2 separate regions of the Homo sapiens genome follow, and region 2 is linked to region 1. Evidence: promoter capture Hi-C in human tissues and cell types (Jung and others, 2019). All regions are on one chromosome and are shown on one strand. Each heading gives the region's core, a stretch centred on a gene start or on the middle of the fragment in contact. The rest is flanking DNA. Distances are from core to core; before and after follow the strand shown.

What was found. The method cuts DNA at HindIII sites, captures the fragments that hold promoters and counts their contacts. A contact is called where the count stands out against the background at its distance.
Region 2: a contact is called between the fragment with the promoter of CCL27 here and a fragment that was not itself captured in region 1, in 1 of the 25 tissues and cell types used here (mesenchymal stem cells).

Annotation. Positions count from the first base shown.
Region 1 is chr9:34,464,265-34,470,046 of GRCh38, reverse strand. The region is part of intron 1 of DNAI1 (dynein axonemal intermediate chain 1); the gene reads right to left. Among named protein-coding and RNA genes, the nearest start is that of DNAI1, 8.4 kb to the right of the region's middle. The HindIII fragment of the contact is 7,861 bases long and covers 266-5,782 here.
Region 2 is chr9:34,660,166-34,666,556 of GRCh38, reverse strand. CCL27 (C-C motif chemokine ligand 27) reads left to right here and starts at 3,900. Exons shown (of 3, transcript NM_006664.4): 1 at 3,900-3,993; 2 at 4,141-4,273; 3 at 4,478-4,667. The coding sequence starts at 3,924. The coding sequence ends at 4,613. IL11RA (interleukin 11 receptor subunit alpha) reads right to left here. Exons shown (of 13, transcript NM_001142784.3): 10 at 6,164-6,283; 11 at 5,957-6,053; 12 at 5,621-5,703; 13 at 4,655-5,075. The coding sequence ends at 5,059. It overlaps LOC730098, which reads left to right and starts at 512. Exons shown (of 3, transcript NM_001320038.2): 1 at 512-944; 2 at 1,184-1,243; 3 at 1,367-2,394. The coding sequence starts at 898. The coding sequence ends at 1,523. It also overlaps a transcript of PHF24 not described here. RefSeq lists a silencer at 938-1,187. The HindIII fragment of the contact is 14,352 bases long and covers 1-5,803 here.

The DNA of each region.
Region 1 (5,782 bases), core at 2,947-5,446:
TAATCTCATAACATGCTAATTCTATTTACCACCACTACTTCATCCTTTCCCCTATTGTTGTCACATATTTTATTTCTGTATACAGTGTAAGCCCTACTTGACAATAATGGTTTTGTTTTGTTTTTTGCTTTAAACAGTCATCTGTCTTTTAAGAAAATTAATAGAAGGGCTGGGCGCAGTGGCTCACGCCTGTAATCTCAGCACTCTGGGAGGCCGAGACAGTAGGATCACTTGAGGCCTGGAGTTTGCCATCAACCTGGCCAACATAGTGAAACGCTGTCTCTACTGAAAATACAAAAAAAATTAGCCACCATGGTGGTGAGCATCTGCAATCCCAGCTACTCAGGAGGCTGAGACAAGAGAATTGCTTGAACCTGGGAGACACAGGTTGCAGAGAGCTGAGATCACACCATTACACTCCAGCCTGGTCGACAGAGTAAGACTCTGTCTCAAACAACCAAAAACAACAACAAAAAGAAAATTAATAGAAAGAAAAAAAGTGCTGTAGTCCCAGCACTTTGGGAGGCTGAGGCAGGAGGATCACTTGATCCCAAGAATTCAAGACCAGCCTAGGCAACATAGTGAGACCCTGTCTCTATATATTAAAAAAAAAATTAGCTGGGCTTAGTGGTGCATGCCTGTGGTCCCAGCTACTTGGCAGGCTGAGGCAGGAGGATCACTTGAGCCCAGGAGGTCAAGTCTCCAGTGAGCTGTGAGCATGCCATTGCACTCCAGCCTGGGTGACAGAGTGGGACCTTGTCTCAAAAAAAAAAAAAAAAAAAAAAAGCCATTCCATTGTCTTCTGGCCTACATTGTTTATGGTGAGAAGTCAACCACAATTCATATAATTGTTTCCCTGTATGCAATTTGTCATTTTTCTTTGGCTACTTCCAAGGTTTTAGTTTTATCTTTGGTTTTCAGTAGTTTGACTATAAAAGACCTAGATGTGGTTTTATTTGTATTTATCCTGCTTGGGGCTCACTGAGTTTCTGATAGTCCTATATGTTTTCCACCAAGTTCAGAAAACTTTTGACCATTATTTCTTCAAATATTTTTTCTTCCTCTTTTTCCCTCTGGCATTCCAACTACACCCATGTTCCAAATACATATATAATATATTCCATAGCTCACAAAGGCCCTCTCTTTTATTATTATTATTTTTTAGTGGAGCCTCAGTAACAGGGCACCTGTTTTTTCTTTTTCTTTTCTCTTTTTTTTTTTGAGACAGGGTCTCACTCTGTCACCCAGACTGCTTTGCAGTGGCACAGCCGCAGCTCACTGCAGCCTTGATCTCCTGGGTTCAAGCTATCCTTCCACTTCAGCCTCCCACATAGAGGGACCACAGGGGCATACCACCACGCCTGGCTAATTTTTAAATTTTTTGTAGAGACGAGGTTTTTTTTATGTTGCCCAGGTTGGTCTCAAACTTCTGGGCTCAAGTGATCCTCCCGTCTCATCCTCCCAAAGTGCTGGGATTATAGGTATGAGCCACCATGCCCAGCCAGGCTCTCTTTTTACAAGAAAAACAAAACAAAACAAAACAAAACAAAACCTTCTTGGCCGGGCGTGGTGGCTCACGCCTGTAATCCCAGCACTTTGGGAGGCCAAGACTGGTGGATCAGGAGGTTAGGAGATCGAGACCATCCTGGCTAACATGGTGAAACCCCGTCTCTACTAAAAATACAAAAAAAAAAAAAAATTAGCCAGGCGTGGTGGCGGGCGCCTTAGTCCCAGCTACTCGGGAGGCTGAGGCAGGAGAATGGCGTGAACCTGGAAGGAGGAGCTTGCAGTGAGCCGAGATCGCGCCACTGCATTCCAGCCTGGCAGACAGAGCGAGACGCCATCTCAAAAAAAAAAAAGCCTTCTTCCTCTCTGTTCTTCAGATTAAATAATTTCCATGGATCCATCTTCACATTCAGCTGTTAGGCCTATCCAACGAATTTTTTATTTCTGATATTGTATTTTTCTACTGTTTCCATTTTTCTGCTTAGATTCTCCATCCGTGCATCCATTAAAACAATATTTCCTTTATGTCCATAAATATATTTATAACAGCTGCTTTAAAGACATTGCCTGCTAATTCCAACATCTGTGTTACTCCCTGGTACTATCATGCTCTCCTTTGGATCTACCTCTCTGAGCCATGATCAAGAAATTGTCCTTAGGCAGAGAGCAAGGGTAAATGTGTGACTCACGTTGAGTGTTTTCCTTCCCTCAGGAATCACTGTCCTATGTTGTCTATTGTCCAATACCGAAAAACATTAGTGTCATATATTGTGTCCAGGCTTACTGCTGTTTACAGTGTGAGGGAAAGTCCAGTGTAGATTTCTGCACCATGGCCAGAATATAAATCCCCTAAATCAAGGTCTTTAAGGTTATATATATACTGCATTTTATTTATTTATTTATTTTAGAGACAGGTTCTCACTCTGTTGCCCATGCTGGAGTGCAGTGGTAACAATCATAGCTCACTGGAGTCTTGAACTCTTGGGCTCAAGGGATCCTCCCGCCTCAGCCTCCTGAGTAGCTGGGACTACAGGTGCATGCAACCTGGCTAATTTGTGGTGTGTGTGTGTGTGTGTGTGTGTGTGTGTGTGTGTGTGTGTATTTGTGTAGAGATGGGGTCTTGCTGTGTTGTCCAGGCTGGTCTCAAACTCCTAGGCTCAAGTGATCCTCCTGCCTCAGCCTCCCAAAGTGCTAGGATTACAGCCATGAGCCATCATGCCTGGCCTGTGTGCTGTATTTTAAAATTCATTGCAGAAATGTGCTATTTTTAAAACCCTATAGTAAAGGCTTTTGTAAAGGACAGGACCTTTTGTAATGTAAATATCAGCCCTGAATGAAAGCATTGGACTAGAAGAAATCTGAGGCCCCTGAGGCCCCTTCCCGCACAATTCATGAGAAAGAGATTTACCAGAAACAATATGGAAGTTACTTTAGAGTAAAGCGAGTTATATCTTCCACTGGAGGAGCTGAGCAAAGAGAATACCTCCTTCTAGCTTTGGTTGCTTAAAGAGCCATAGGATCTTGTCCCTTGCTGACATTGCCTAGCATGAACAGATGAGCTAGGGTCAATCAGATTCCCTCCTTAAGAATTTGAACTAGGACTACAGGGAGAACCAGCAGTTGGATGGAGATATTCATGGAAATGTTTGTGAGGTAGAGAGGTCAGAACAGTTATGATAAGCTGGAAACAGACTAAAATTATGAGGGAGCGGAGACCATGGAAATCTGGCCAGTTGGGAAATAAGAATAAGAATGAAACATAGTTGTTAAGAGAAATAGAGAGGCTGTGAGAGATGTGGAGAAAGTAGTTGGTCCCTATACCTGTTTCAGAATTAATTGTTTTCCAATTTCAATTCTAGGTTATCTATGTACTTATAATAACCATCTGTAACTCCCCACATATATACCTTCTCCCTTCTCTCATCCTCTTTTATCTGAGGTAACTTGAGTGAGCCTCTGTTCTTTGTAACTTAAAGAGCTTAACTAAAGTAATGTGTCTTAGAGTTTGCCAGGTCTGTAAAGGGCAGAAAGAGAAGAGAAGACTTGGGCATTCCATGCAGAGGGAACAAAATAATTAACAAAGACACAGAGGCACAGAAGCAGATGACTCTCCAAGGAGCAGCAGATTATTTTGTCCATATACACTCCAGTTTGTTCCCAAATAAGATTTGAGGCTGAATACATGACACATTGAGAAAATAAGTAAATGAGCAAATGGATGTGATGTAAGAATAAAAGTAGAAAAATAAGCTTAACATTAGGGGTAGGGTCCCTACATAATTAATAGGATTAGGCTGCTTTAACTAGGATAAAGGAGGCATGAATTGCTTCTTCTGCAGGCCAAGAAAGAAAAGTTAGTGTTCAGAGTAGTGCAGTACATACCTTCCCATCACTCATTTATTCACTCATCAACTAACTCATTCAGTCATTATTCATTCATTCAGCATTTATTAAGCATCTACTATGTGCCAGGTCCTCGGATGACGGCTAAAGAGGAACCAAGATTGAGTTGGTTCTCACACCCAGGGTTCTCAATCTAGGAGGTGAGATAAATGGAGGACATAAATCCACCATACAAACCAGAATCCAGTGACTCTATGAGTAGGACAAAGCGTTGTGAGACTCAAACCAGTGAAACTAAAGTTACAACAGCTGTGTCCTTTGCTTGCTTCTTGCATACAACTCTGTCAGTGCTCAGTGACTGCAAAGATTGAACACTTGATACAAATTCCTAACTGGCAGAAAACAATTTCATGTGGCTTGCTCACAGCTGGAGCCAGAGAGTCAACATTACTCCTCAGCATCAACTTGCAGGCTGCAAAGCCCAGCAACGAGCACAGGAGCCCTCTGCCATTATTATTTGAGTACCTGGCATGTACTGAGTGCTAACAATGTGCTAGGCCCCCTAGTACACAGGGGAGGAAAACAAATTCTGGCCTCAAATGCTCACAGCTGTTTTGTAATCTGATAATTGTGCATGACAAACCTCAGACCATAACTCTGAAAATAGCATGACTATAATCATAACAAAATGGAACTGCCATTGGCAAAAATTGTTTTCTAGTTATCACTTCCAGAAGGAATTCCATTAACACAACTAGGGGAAAAGAAGAAAAAACTGTCTCAGCTTTCTGCTGCTAAACCTCAAAATTATCATCAACTGCATCCATCCCTTCTCCTGTCCTGTTACAAAGTGTGCCTCCTCCTGTCCACAACATCATCTCCTCAGAGACTTGGCTCTAGTCATTATTTAATCTTTCTCCTTTATCTTCAACTTCTCTCTCCGTTCAGGATCCTTCCCCTCAGCATTTAATATATTCAAGTCTGTCATCTTAAAAAAACAATCTTTGCCTACATAGTTCTTACTGCCTTCTTAGCTCAATTCAGTTTAGCTTTTCACTCTGAAATTGTCCTTTCCAAGGTCCCCAATAACTTCCAAGTTATTAAATCTAATAGTTATATCTTAGTGTTTATCTTCATTGACACCTTAGCAACATGCAACTTGGCTGACCATACAGTTTCACTGAAACACATTCTTCCTTTGGCTTCTGGGATATTATTTTTCCTTGTTGTCTTCTTACTTCTCTGATTACTCCTTCTTATTCTCCATTTTGGACTCTTCTTCTTCTATCCAAACCTTAAATACTGGTGGTCCCCCCAGAAGTCTTCCCTAATTCCCCCAGAATCAGAATGAAGACCCCCTACCACATGCTTCCATAGAACCCTGTGCTACTTCCCCAACCACAGTTGATCACTCATTCAACATTCATCAAGAGCTTCTGACGTCATCATGGCCACTGTTTTAGGGGCTGAGAATACAGATATAAGCAAAAACATCCACAGGCCCTGCTCCCAAGGAGCTCACAGTCTAATGGGGGAGACATACAATAATCAAATAATTACACAAATAAGTGAATAATTACAAACCGTGATGCATGCTATGGAAGAAAGGAACACAGAGCAATGAGACTATATAACAGAGGAAACTTACCCTACCTTCCATAACGGGGCAGGGGGCATTGGGGGCAGGTTGTGGGGATTGATTTGGGGGCTGAAATCTTAGGAGTGAGTACATGTGTGAGGGAGGGTGTGAAAAGCATTCCAGAAAGGGGGCAGCACATAGAACTAAGGTACAGCAATAATGGAGAAGAGTGGTACAAATTAAGGTATAGAGACCCAGGTAGGTCTCAGGCCCATTCAGGTCTCTGGAGCGATTGTCTAAAAATCTGGTCCCTATCCTAAGAGCAATGGGAAGTCACTGAAGTGTTCTGAGTGG
Region 2 (6,391 bases), core at 2,651-5,150, 200 kb before region 1:
AAAATCACAAGAAGATAGGTCTCAGACCAGAGAGGAAGGGCAATGACCCTCCGGCCATTCAGTGACTTAGCCGAGGCCACTCAACTAGGTATTTCCGTAGCCTGGCCTTTTCTAGACTGGACTCTATCTGAGGACCTATTCCTCCTCGGCCCAGGGTCATACAAGGGGAGGAAGGCAGGCAAGAGAGGCACTCGGCAGGGCAGAAGCCCAGGGAGGGGTAGAGGAGACGTGGGGATTAAGAAAACAGTACTGGACTTAGTCCCAACTCTCTTTTCTTGCTGCCTGCTGCGGAAGCCTCGGCCCCCCAAGGTGTAGCTCCAAAACCTGACCTGACACCTATAAAAGAGGGTCCTTTGCCCGCATCTTAATCAACCGACCCCGCCCCTGGCCTCACCCCGTAAGATGACGTTTCGACTCCGCCTCCTCTGGGAGACATGAACACCCCACCCCTTCCGGGGGACAGGCAAACCTAGTGCGCAACGGCATCCCTGTGACGTAATAGTAACGGTCCGTTTCCGGGGTGGAGCCAGGGAGGGCGGGAGTTTAGGCTGCGCTGACCCCTCTCAGCCCCCCCTCCAGGTGACCCCAGCCCCTGAAAATCCTCACCCAGGGCCCCAAATCTCCCAGCCCCATGACCGCCAAACCTCTCGCCCTGGCCCCCTAAATGCCCCAGGCCCCGGAGATGACCGGCCTCCTCACCCCTTAACTTCCAGTGCCTCCCAAATCTCCAAGCCCACCCTGTCCCGTGGTGGCAACTGAGGCTTCTCGGGGGCATCAGCCTCAGATTACCTGAGAACTGGGCAGCCTCGTCCTGAGAATGACGGAGAAGGGGACCTGGGGCTAGGGAATCCCTGATTCAATCATGCCGCTCCCCAGGAGACGTTCGGAGCCCAGGACATGTCGGGAATGAGGAGATACGAGGTGGCGCTGGAGGCGGAGGAGGAGTGAGTGGAGGCGGGTTCTGCGGAGGAGGAACCAGGCGGCTCCGGGGTGGGGGAGGGTGGAGTTCTGCGGGGGCGAGGGGTGGGCAGGGCGAGCCTCCCAGGGGCGTGGGCGCGAAGGGAGCCGCTTTTAGAGGCGGGGCGGAGCCTTCCTCGACGGCGAGGCACCGCGGGGCGGAGTCTGTAGGGTCAGCTCCTCCCCGCCCCGCCCCGCCCCGCCCGGCTCTGCCCTCTCTCTGCAGGATCTACTGGGGCTGTTTCTACTTTTTCCCCTGGCTTCGCATGTGGCGGAGGGAGCGGAGGTGAGGAGGCTGCGATACCGCGGACCCGCCCCGGGCATGGACGGGACTCAGTCTCTGAGGACCCATCGGGGGGAATCCGGTAGCTCCCGCCCCGCCTCATGCCAGTGTCGGGTCGCCCCACAGCTCGGCGCACCCCGGGGAGCAGAAGCTGGAGCCTCTGCGAGGCCTGATGAGCTGTCTGTCCAGCGGCCTGGGTCCTACTCCCCAGCGCTCGGGTCGTGGCTTCCCCCGCCGCAGCCCCACCGCCGCTGCCCAGCCAGCCAGTGCATTAAAGATTTAAACCGAAGCCCACCGTACTGACCTCCTGACTCTGCCGCCGCTGTCGCCATTCGAGCCGAGCGCCCCTCCCCACACGGGCTCTGTTCCGTACTGACAGGGCGTCCCTCCCTGGAAGGGTGCCCTTCCACGTCAAAGCCCCTCATCAGTGTCAGGCCTCCTGTTACTATCAATGGCTGTCTCCCCCAATCCCAACCCCCAAAAACCCATACTGTGAGTCGCCTATATGAAGAGAACTAAATAATCCTGCCTGTTACTCCCTTCCTCGGAGCGAGGACTTTGCCAGCTGTCTGAAGAATCTTCTCTGCTGGGAGTATATCTAAAACATTTTAAGCAGAGGTGTAGGATGCAGGCTGTAAATGGTAAGAGGGGGAGATTCCTAGAAGCTGCCTGCCACAGAGGAGCGACTTGGGTTGGCGACCTTTCCTACAGTTCATACCCCAACTTTTGGCTCCTCCAGTCTGATCCCAAGTTTAGAGATCCTTGGCATCAGCCTACCTAGAAGTTCTTGCTCCCTCCCTAGGAGAGTCCAAGGGCCACTGCTCTTTGCCGCCCCCTTCTGTCACCCAATCAGCCTGGGACCCACTAACTCCTCAAGTGGTGAGAATCAGGGACTGCTATGTGGGCCTGCCTTCAGTTAGGGACTGGACCCAGCACCAGAAAGGGCACCACAAGATTAAGTTAAAGAAAGAGATGGCCCAGTTTCTGGCTGGGGCCAAAGCTACAGCAGATTGTGGCTGGGGAGAAGACTTGGTCTTAAAGGGGAGAGATGGGTGCACACCCAAAAGCATTTGTTTTCTGCCTTCCGAAGACTTCTGGACCGACAAGCCCAGGGAAGACCAGAAAGTATGTAGCGCACAGCCAAGTGATGAAGAAGGTCTATGACAAGCCCGAGGAACCTGGGAGATTTCCTTGGGATTTCCTCAGTGGCTACACCCAACAAGCCTTGGGACACAAGAGAAAGGCCTAAGCCCTATCCCAAGAGAAAGCCTACTCCATAGAGAGTGGCTGACCCTACAGCAGACGACTGCAACAAGATAAGGGCTGGATTACTGTGTTATGACTTGGTTTATGTTTCAAATATAGAGCAGGACTTGCAGATTGAGATCCCTGGACCAGGAGTGGGAAATTCTTAAAGGAGCCAGGGGCACTGAACTTGGCAGCATACCCCCACCCTAGGCAGCTCCCAGCTTCCTGGAAAGGACTGGATAAAGATGAATAGGAGCTTTGCATTGCAGGGAGGGGGTAAAGAACGGAGTGACAGCTGGGTATGGGATTAGGAGAGAAGCGGCTATAGCTGGAGGGTGGGATGCAGGGGGTATAGCAGTTGGACATGAGGGTGTGACTGAACCCGGGTAGGGAGAGGGGATGTTCCTCCAGGCCCAGGAAGGAGGCTGGAATTTGAGTAAAACAAAGATGTAATTGAGTGCTTGAGTCCAATGTCTTCAACAAGTCAGGGACTGGATCTGGAGACCCTAGGCCCCTGCTGGCAAGAGGTTGGCATTCCTGGAACAGGACTAGACAAAAACAGGAAGGTAAGATTCACTGGGCCTTTTACCTGTTTTGACAACAGTAACCTAGCACCAAAGAGCTTTTATCTTCCCTCCTTATCTACCCCACCTTTCCTCCCTGTCTCATCATCCTGGGGAAAGCTGCCCCACCTCAGCATCTCCAAAACACCCTTAATATTACCATAAAGGGCCTTCCCCCAGCTTCTCTGAATGGGGCTGGCCTCAGCCAAGAACCCTCCTCAGCCAGAAGGGCCTGCTCTAGGGACCCATTCCCATCCATTTCTTCTGATAAGACAGGCAGGCCAAGCCAGGAAGTGGGGAGGAGAAGGTGAAGGCAAGTTGGTGCTTGCCTGCCCTCTGCTCCCACCCCACCCACAACTCCCCTGTCAGAATCTGTGTGTGCTAGTGTGAATTTGCTTGTGATTGGATGACTGTGAAAACACAATTGGGTGGGAGAGGGACTTTGAGTATAACCGGGGCTATATAATTTTGTCTACGGTTGTCTGATCATGAGTATGACTTTGTGAGGTTGACCAAGTGATTGAGGAGTGACTTTGAATGTGTGGCTATGCGTATTTGAGTGTGAATGTCTATCATTAGATGCTGCTGTGGATGCTTGACTGCCCTTACTCACTGTTCCATCAGTCCCTACATCACACACTAATCCTTCCCCCAGCTTCACTGCCCAGAGCTTAGGAGCACATGGGAAATGGCTATCCTAGATGAGGAAGGAGTCTGTGGCAACAGGCCGAGAATTAGGGCCCAGGAGTGTCACAGGTTACACAGTACATCTCCAACTGCCTCTGACTCACCTAGTGCCCCAGGTAAAAGGCACCCAGATAAAAGGTAGGGGAGGAGGAGAGAGAGAGAAGGAAGAGTCTAGGCTGAGCAACATGAAGGGGCCCCCAACCTTCTGCAGCCTCCTGCTGCTGTCATTGCTCCTGAGCCCAGACCCTACAGCAGGTGAGTACTTGGGGGTATAGAAAGCTGGGGGTCTGGGTGAATGGGATGAAGTTGAAAAGACCCAGGAAATCCAACCTAACCTCCAGCTGTCTGGCAGAGAGGTTCTTGGTCAGGATCCCTCTGAACACATGGCCCTGTTGCCCCTAGCATTCCTACTGCCACCCAGCACTGCCTGCTGTACTCAGCTCTACCGAAAGCCACTCTCAGACAAGCTACTGAGGAAGGTCATCCAGGTGGAACTGCAGGAGGCTGACGGGGACTGTCACCTCCAGGCTTTCGTGTGAGCTCCCACCCCTGATACCCCTGACTCTGACCTCAGTCCCAACCCCTAATGCTGATCCCAACCCCAGCCCTAACTGCTAATTCTGTTGCCAACTCAGGTTTTCATCTGGTCCTTGCTCCTAACCCCTAATTAGGGTCATTGGGGATGACCCTAATCTCATCCCCAAGCTATGGTCATAGCTTTGGACCTTTCTCTACCCAGGCTTCACCTGGCTCAACGCAGCATCTGCATCCACCCCCAGAACCCCAGCCTGTCACAGTGGTTTGAGCACCAAGAGAGAAAGCTCCATGGGACTCTGCCCAAGCTGAATTTTGGGATGCTAAGGAAAATGGGCTGAAGCCCCCAATAGCCAAATAATAAAGCAGCATTGGATAATAATTTCTGAGTATAATCTCCAAGAACTTCCTTATTCTCTTTATTCACACCTGCACAACCCCTGCAAGGGGAAAGGCCAAGAGCCAAGGACCCACACACACTCCCCAGGCACCTACATACATGCATGCAGAGAATACATGTTCCCTGCCTCACAGACACATGGTCACACATGGACACAGATGTACACATTACACACGTTCCTTGAGCAGAACTCCAACTCTGGGGTGAAATCAGAGGTACAAGCACCTTTCAGCTGCAAATTTGAAATACAGGGTCTCACAGAAATGGGCTCCAAACAGAACTTCCAGCTGAGATCCAACCATAGGGATCTACTGTCCTGCCTGGTTTCTATCCACACCAGCAAGACAGAATTATAGGTGGAATCTGCCGAAGCCCTCCTGGGTCCTCTACAGGTTTGGAGCTCCTAGAAGAAGCAGGAGGCAAATCAGGAGAGACAGTAAGACCGGATCTTGGCCCAGACACCCTGAGAATGAGGGAGGTGACTCAGTTCTAAGCTTAACACTCTGAAGATGAGTAGAGGAGCCCAGCTCTGAGGGAGCCTCTTCAACACACTGAAGATACGGGAGTGGACCTAGCTCTGGGCCCAGGCACATTAAGAATGAAGGAGGGGACCTAGCACTGATCCAAGACACCTTGAAAAAAAAGGATGAATATCCAGCTCTGAGTCTAATACCCTGGAAGAGTATTAGTACTAATACTAATACCCTGAAGGGAAGTCCACCTGGGGTCCTTCCTCAGTACCCTGAGAGGAGGGAAAGAGACCCACTTCTGAGCCCAGGGACTCAAGAATGAAAGGCCCAGCCCTCAGCCTAGACATCATTAAAATGAGGAGACCCAACTTGGATTCCCAGCATGTTTTAAAATGACTAGGGCAGCCAGCTCTTAATCTGGACACTCAAAATAGGGGCAAACATCTCCAAGTCCAAATCTTCTGGATGTCCTACTCACCTGGACGCCTGTCCACTGGAATCACTGAGGCCAAGAACCCAGGCTTTGGGGATCCATCCTTCCCACCCCGTCTCAGCCTCAGCCTGGGGCATAGAAAGGCAGCTGTCTCTCCAACAATGTGGGTTATCTCAGTCTCCGCCAAAGGGTTTATTAGTAAAGGGTCAGGAGAGGAATCAGTTAAAATCAAGTGGGGCATGGGGGATGGAGGTATGGGGAGGTAGTTCCAGAATCAGACAGGTTCAGCGGGCAGTCATGAAGGGTGGAGATGAATGTGGTCTATGGGCATCAGAGCATGTGTGAGGATCAGAGGCTGAGGGACCAATGGCAGTCACTTACCAGAGCCCCAGTGCCAGGGCCCCAGCCACCAGTCCCAGGAAAGAAAGGATTCCCAAAGACGCCAGCACAGCTACCTGCTCCACAGAGTCCCTGTGATCTGAGGGGGAGGGCCACATGTCACTGAGAGCAAGCCTGACCAAGCTCGGTGTCCCCTTTTCTCTGGGGTTTTCAGTCCTTTACAAGTCTTGCCCATCTGCCCAAGCTCACCAAGTAGCCGAGGGTGTGGTTGGAGGGAGGGCCTTGGAGGAGCAGGGCTGTCCACCTGAGGCTCCACCTCTGGCTGCGTGTGTAGCTGGCCCCATGCTGGTATCTCCTTTGGTATGGTCCCTAAAGGAAGGCAAGACCCAATAAGTGTCCATACGCTGGTGGGGACGGGGGTCACGTCCTGTGCTCAAGGCCAAGGCCTAGGTTGGAAGTCAAGGTACCTAGGAGGAG